Regions from separate parts of the Homo sapiens genome. Here region 2 is linked to region 1. Evidence: promoter capture Hi-C in 16 types of primary human blood cells and fetal thymus (Javierre and others, 2016). All regions are on one chromosome and are shown on one strand. The core of a region is centred on a gene start or on the middle of the fragment in contact, and the rest is flanking DNA. Distances in the headings are between cores, read along the strand shown. Region 1 holds the start of KCP (kielin cysteine rich BMP regulator). Region 2 overlaps SMO (smoothened, frizzled class receptor).

The links. Contacts are between HindIII fragments. The CHiCAGO score rates a contact against its expected background, and 5 or more counts as called.
Region 2: a fragment that was not itself captured here is called in contact with the fragment with the promoter of KCP in region 1 in 1 of 17 cell types (total B cells); the score reaches 7.9 in total B cells.

The regions. Positions count from the first base shown.
Region 1 is chr7:128,909,121-128,912,592 of GRCh38, forward strand. KCP (kielin cysteine rich BMP regulator) reads right to left here and starts at 1,589. Exons shown (of 40, transcript NM_001366122.1): 1 at 1,481-1,589. The coding sequence starts at 1,556. It also overlaps the pseudogene LOC392787. The HindIII fragment of the contact is 11,148 bases long and covers 1-2,645 here.
Region 2 is chr7:129,195,997-129,199,765 of GRCh38, forward strand. The region is part of intron 1 of SMO (smoothened, frizzled class receptor); the gene reads left to right. Among named protein-coding and RNA genes, the nearest start is that of SMO, 9.2 kb to the left of the region's middle. The HindIII fragment of the contact is 207 bases long and covers 2,053-2,259 here.

The DNA.
Region 1 (3,472 bases), core at 339-2,838:
ACGGGGCACCTCTGAGCTCTGGCCTGGGGTTAGGGGCGGCCACTTTCACCTTTTCACTTTGATCCTTCTCCTGCAGCCCAGAAAGTAAAGGCAGGAGGGGAAGAGGCAGACATAGGTCCCTCCTCCAGGCAGGGATGGGCAGGGAAGTTGAGGGTCTGGAGCGGAGGCAATAGGAACAGAGAGAGGAGGAGGGAGAGGGATGGGTCTTTCCCACCATGGCAGCTCATTAGTGAGGCCAGGCCTGGAGTGGCTTAAAAGGGTTTCTCACAGACACTAGGCCTGTGAGACAGGGGAACAATGTCACCCACTGTCACCATCAAAGGCAGAGGGGATTCTAGGCTAAAATTGAACTTGCTTTGTCCCAAGTTCCCTGGCTTGGTTAATGCCATCACACATACCCAGTTACTTAAGCCAGAAAGCTGGGGCTCAGCTCCCCTATTTTGTTGCCTGAGTTGTCCCCTAATACATCCCCCCCTTCTCCTCTCTCCACCATCTCCATTCAGAAGGCTGAAGACAAAGCGTCCCTGCCTCCATCTGTGCCCCTTCTCTCCACTCGACCTTTCTGAATCACACAGCCGAAGTCTCCCAGGAGCAAGTCCCGCTGGGATGGATCACAAGCACCGCCCACCTTTCCAGCCCCGCTACTTCTGGCTTATATCAGGGATTCTAACTCAGTTCCCGCACCCTGGGCGAATACTGGCCCTCAAACCCCAGGTGCCCTTTCCCATCTCCGTCCCTCTACTGGGGATCCTGTCACCCGGAATGGCACCCGGTCTCAGTCCTTCCCAAGCACACAGAGGGCGGCCACGATGGGCGTCTCAGCATCTGAAACCTTCTACCCAATCTAGACTCCCGTGGGGCCTCATCCTGCTGCCCAGGGCCCCTCCTCCCAGGCCACTCCTCCAGTTCTGCTTAAGTAGGCAGGCAGGATATGGGAGCCCGGGAGAAGCTGAATCCTCTGGGACCCCTAGGTGAAGCTAGGGCCAGCCTCGCCTGGAGAGACCTGCAGAAAGAGCTCCGAGTGGCACAAACTTGGCTGGTCCCCAAGGAATTGTCCCGGGTTCCCCTCTTAGCCTCCCCTGGCCCCGTGCCGGCACCGAGCCCTCCATTCCCGCCTGTCCTGCTCCGGGGAGGGCCAGACACAGATGCAAAGTCAGCTTCCACAGCGGGCCCCTTTTCTCCCCCTCCTTCGTCAAGACAAATAATTAACTTCAGACTCCCAGATGCCAGGGCAGCCGCACTCTCTCCCGCCGCCGGCTGCAGGAACCGCCCCCCTCTCCTGAACCCCCTGCTTTGGCCGTGGTCTTCCCCACCCTGCTCGCTCCCCCGACGGGGAGGACGGAGCTGGCCAGGGAGGCGCGCGAACCTCAGGCAGGGCTAAGAGCAGAGCCCCCAGCCCCTCTCGGCCCCCTCAGGCCGGGCTGATAGGAGGGAGGGGGCGCACCTGGCCGGACCCCAAGCCTCCCGCACCTGGACTCACCTTCCGCGCCCGCGGCCAGCGCCAGGGCCCCGAGGTGCAGGAGAAGGGACAGCGCAGCGGCCCCGACCCCGGCCATGCTAGCTCCGCCTCGCTCGGCTCGCCGTCTGTCGTCGCGGCTCAGCAGGCGCTGGGGAAGGCGGGGTGGGGACACACAGGCCGCTCCCACCCAGGCTTTGTTCAGGGAGGGCTCAAACCCCCCACCGCGCGCGCCTTTCCCATGCACACCTCCACCCGCCCCGGGCCCGGCCGGTCCTGACCCCAGAGAGCAGCTCCAGCTCGCAGGAAGCCCAACGGGGGTGTAGGCCTTGTCTCCGCTTAAGATCCAGGAGGAGACCCTGAAAAGAAAATAAACCCAAGTCCACCCCTCTCGGGATCCTAGAGAGTCTCCCTGCCCTTTTAGGTTACTCCATCGCCCTAGGGTTTCCAGATCGATTTTTCCTCTCTCTCACAAGTTTACAGAAGAAGCAGACTGAGCTGGGTTTAGATCCCTGCTCAGCCAATTCCATGTGGCCTTAGACCACTAACTTCTCTGTGCCTCAATTTCCCTATCTGTAAACTGGGGATCACCACATCTACTTTATAGACTTGCAGTGAGCATTAAGTGAGATTATATAAGTAAAGAATTTAGAGTCGGTAGAGAGATGGTAAATGCTCAGTAAATAACAAATAATAATAATAAGAACTCCTGATCTCTGAAATCATGGACACGACCAGTGTTTTCCTCTCTCCCCTATAAGTTTCTTTCCTGAACTCCACTCAACACCCCTACCCACCCCAGCAGTCCCAGGCTTGGCCCCAAATGCCAAGGCCGCCCTTCACTGGCTGGTCTCAGCCCCATTTCCCACTCCTGAGCTCAGGCCTGGCTGTGGGGTGAGCCTGGGTAGGGGGCAGGGCTGGGCCCTGGGCTCAGCAGGCAGAGGGGGCCAAAGGGAGGAAGTGAGGACAGCCGTCCCTGTGGGCCCACAGGCTGGGAAACTCCTCCTTGAAGCTGGGAAGCAGAGGGTTGGGTCTCACAGGCGAAGCTCACAGGCAAAAAGGAACATTGAGGGCGGAGCTGTGAACCCTTCCAAAGCTCTCCCTCCCTGTCATAAAGACCAGAAGTCGGAAGCCACCCCTCCCCCTAGACCAGGCAGGGACTGAGGTCTCCCCAGCCCACTCTCCACCAAGCTTAAAGCTTCAGTAAGGAGACGGCAGCTTCTCTGCCCCAGAGTCTGGGCCCATAGTGGACCTGAGCCTTTGCCACAGGGGGCAGGGAGGCTGCAATGCCACGCTAAGACCTGGCCTCAGTGCCTGGAGCTGAGGTCACAGAGGAAAGCCAGGGCCAGCCAGCCAGAAGAGGAACAAGGAAGCGGCAGCACTATTCCTGGCAGGTTTAAGGAAGGTGGCTTTCATTGACCGGGTGCCTCTGGAAAGCAAGTCCTCTGAGGGGCTGGGTAGTGGGACGGTTCAGAGCACAGATTCTGGCAGGGTTGCCAGGGCGCATCCTGGAGCTCTTGCTTTCTGCTCTGGGGCCTCTGGCTGGTCACTTCACTTTTGGTGGCTGATTTTTCTGAACTGTGACTGGAGCTCTAACAGCACCCACCTCATGGAGTGTTTGTAAGGATTAGTAATGCATGGTGCTTGGCACAGAGGTATGAGCAATTTTTACTTCCCTTATGAAGAATGGGGGCACCTCCATCCCCATTTTACAGAAAGAATCAGAGAGAATCAGGGTGAGCAGCTCTAAACCACACTGGGAGGATGCACAGGGCTTCCCTCGCCCCACAGTCCCCTTCCAGTCCCTTGTGTCTTAGCCTCTGCCACTGAGCCTGGCCCCAGTCGGCCCTCATATCACATTCCCAGGGAGGGACACTGTCCTGACACAGAAAAGGTCCTCCAACCCCTGGGGTGCGGTGGGGTGGGGAGGCTGGGCCTTCACTTCACCCCCAAGGCAGGTGTTTGTAGTGTCTGATTCTGTGTGTGTGTGTCTGGGTGTGGCACATTTGTGTGTGT
Region 2 (3,769 bases), core at 906-3,405, 290 kb after region 1:
AGGCTGAGGCAGGAAAATGGTGTGAACCCAGGAGGCGGAGCTTGCAGTGAGCCGAGATCGTGCCACTGCACTCCAGCCTGGGTGACAGAGTGAGACTCCCTCTCAAAAAAAAAAAAAAGAAAAGAAAAAAAAAACAAAAAAAAATTATGTACTGCGATGTGTTGCTTACATTCATAATTGGAGGAAGGGCCAAATTTTAGTTAGGTGTAATTTTTTTCCCATTGAAATTCATGGACCTCTGAATTTTTCCAAGAATCCTTTGTGAACCATAGGGTAAGAATGTTACTTACAGAATATCACTATCTAGTAGAGAGTCTGAGCTATTCTTGATTGTGTGTGTGTGTGTGTGTGTGTGTGTGTTTTAATAGAGACAGGGTTTGACCCTATTGTCCCGGCTGGTCTTGAACTCCTGGGCTCAAGTGATCCTCCTGCCTTGGCCTCCCAAAATGCTCCTTTGTGTTTTAATATAAAAATACTTGGTGATTTTTTATTGGGATTGCATTGACTATATAGATTAACTTGGAAAAAAAAAGAGACATCTTTACAATACTGAGTCTTCCAAACATTGAACATTTATATATTTCTATTTAGATCTTTCATTTTCTCAATATTCTGCACAGATTTAAATACTTATTATTTGTTAGACATTCCTAGGTACTTGATATTTTTGATGCTGTTGTAAATGATGCCTTTAACATTTATTTCACTTTGTTTGTTGCTGACATATAGAAATAAAACTGGCTGGGCACGGTGGCTCACACCTGTAATCCCAGCACTTCGGGAGGCCAAGGCAGGGGGATCACGAGGTCAGGAGATTGAGACCGTCCTGGCTAACATGGTGAAACTCCATCTCTACTAAAAATACAAAAAGTTAGTCGGGCATGGTGGCGGGCGCCTGTAGTCCCAGCTACTCAGGAGGCTGAGGCAGGAGAATGGCGTGAACCTGGGAGGCGGAGCTTGCAATGAGCCCAGATTGTGCCACTGCACTCCAGCCTGGGCAATACAGTGAGACACCGTCTCAAAAAAAAAAAAAAAAAAGAAATAAAATTGATGCCTTTAACATTTATTTCACTTTGTTGCTGATATATAGAAATAAAATTGATTGTGAATTCAGTAAACTTGCTAAATTTATTCTATACACATAGTCATATAATTTGTGAGTAATGAGTTTTGTTTCTTTCTTTCCAAGTCTTATACCTTTTATTTATCCTTATTGCTTTACTGAAGGCTTCCAGTACATTGTTAAATAGACAAAACATCTTAATTCTTGACTTTTCTGGATTCTAAAAAGAAAGCTTTTTCTACCCTTCACCATTAAATTTGATGTTTGGTATAGGTTTTTTATAGTTAATTACATTTTATCAGATTAAGAACGTTGTCTCTTATTTCAAATTTGCCAATTATTCTTTTGATCATAGATGGATGTTGAATTTTATCAACTTTTTTTTTTGGAGACGAAGTGTCACTGTCACCGAGGCTGGAGTGCAGTGATGCGATCTCAGCTCACTGCAACCTCTGCCTCCTGGGTTCAAGCGATTCTCCTGCCTCAGCCTCCCAAGTATCTGGGACTACAGGCGCATGCCACCACGCCCGGCTAATTTTTTGTATTTTTAGTAGAGACGGGGTTTCACCGTGTTAGCCAGGTCAATTTCCTGACCGTGTGATCCGCCCGCCTCAGCCTCCCAAAGTGCTAGGATTACAGGTGTGAGCCACTGCGCCCGGCTGAATTTTATCAACTTTTTTTTGCATCCATTGAGATGATCATATGATTTTTTTCTCCTTTAACCTGTTAATGTAGTAAATTGCATTGATTGAATTTTCTAATATTAAACCAGCCTTAGAACAGTGATACTCAACTTGACTAGTCATCAGAATCACACAAATAAAAAGTCTTTTTAAAAGTCTAGATCAGCCAGGCGCGGTAACACCCGTATTCCTGTTTCTCTTTTTGTTTCATATTTTATTAAAATAAAAGAAGTAAAATAATACTGATAAAGCTGATATCCCCTCTCTTTCTCGTTTCAGTTTCATATCCTTCTTTTCTCTTTGGAAAGCTTCCCCATCCTAGTAATTTGTGTATTTCTTTATTTTGTTTTTAAGCTCAAGTTTTGTTTTTGTTTTTGTTTTTGTTTTTTTGTAGAGATGGGGTTTGGCCATATTGCCCAGGTTGGTCTCGAACTCCTGAACTTAAGTGATCCACCCACCTTGGGCCTCCCAAAATGCTAGGATTATAGGCGTGAGCCACCATGTCCAGCCTTAAGCTTAATTACTTTTAAAAAATAGGTTATACATGTACATGGCACAGAATTCAAAAGGAACAAGTTAAGTCCTACTTCTGCATCTAGCTACCCATTTTTCCTCTGCAGAAGTAACCACCAACACTGGTTTTTGTGTCCTTTTGGAAATATCCAACATCTGTCCAGATGTAGATGTGCTCTCAGTCTCTCCTCTACCGCCCAACCAGTACCATGCTCTATAGACTGCTCTCCACTCAACTGAGTCCATGTAACATGACAACATTGGACATCATTCCATTTCAATGCACATCCTGTCATGCACCCCAGAAGGAGATTTTGGTTAACAATGGACCACATGTGATGGTGTTCCCTTAAGATTATAATACCACATTTTTACTGTAGCCTTTCAATGTTTAGATATGTTTAGATACACTGATACTCACCGTTGTGTTACAGTTGCCTGCAGTATTCAGTATAGCAACATGCTGTACAGGTTTGCAGCCTAGAAGCCATAGGTTATACTGTATCAGCTAGGTGTGCAGTAGGCTATACCATCCAGGTTTGTGTAAGTACACTCTGATGTTCACACAAAGATGACATTGCCTGATGACACATTTCACAGAAGATATCCTCATTGTTAAGCAACATGTGACTATATCTCAACCCTGAATAGTGTTCTATTATAATGGTGTACATTATTTTACTTGGTTGGTCTCCTATTGATGGATATGGATTCAAGCTGTTTCTACTTTTTTGCTATTGCAAAACAGTGCTGCAATGAATAATCTATATTATCTTTGTGAACATGTGAAGTAGAAGTACTAGTATAAAATTTTGGTAGATAATGCCAAAGTGATCTCCACAAGTGTTTACTAATTTTTATTCCTACCAACAAATATAAAAGTGCCAGTTTATCCCTACACTCTTTATAGTACGGTATTTTCTTTTCTTTTTTTTTTTTTTTTTGAGATAGAGTTTTGTTCTGTCACCCAGACTGGAGTGCAATGGCGATCTCGGCTCACTGCAACATCCGCCTCCTGGATTCAAGCAATTCTCCTGCCTCAGCCTCCCAAGAAGCTGGGATTACAGGCGCCCACCACCACACCTAGCTAATGTTTGTAGTTTTTTAGTAGAGACGGGTTTTCACCATGTTGGCCAGGCTTGTGTAGAACTCCTGACCTCAGGTGGTCCACCTGCCTCGGCCTCCCAAACTGTTGGGATTACAGGCGTGAGCCACCACCATGCTCAGCCTTCTTTATGTTTTTAAAGGCCATTAAATGGCCTTGAGTCCAGGAGTTCAAGACCAGCCTGAGCAACATGGTGAAACCTTGTCTCTACAGAAAAATACAAAAATTCACCAGGTGTGGTGGTGTGAGCCTGTAGTCTTTGCTACTCAGGAGGTTGAGGTGGGAGGATTAACTGAACCTGGGGAGCTGAAGGCTGCAGTGAGCCGTGATTATGCCACTGTACTCCAGCCTGGGCAACAGTGTGAGACCCTATCTCAAAAAATAAAAAAATAAAAAAAACATAAA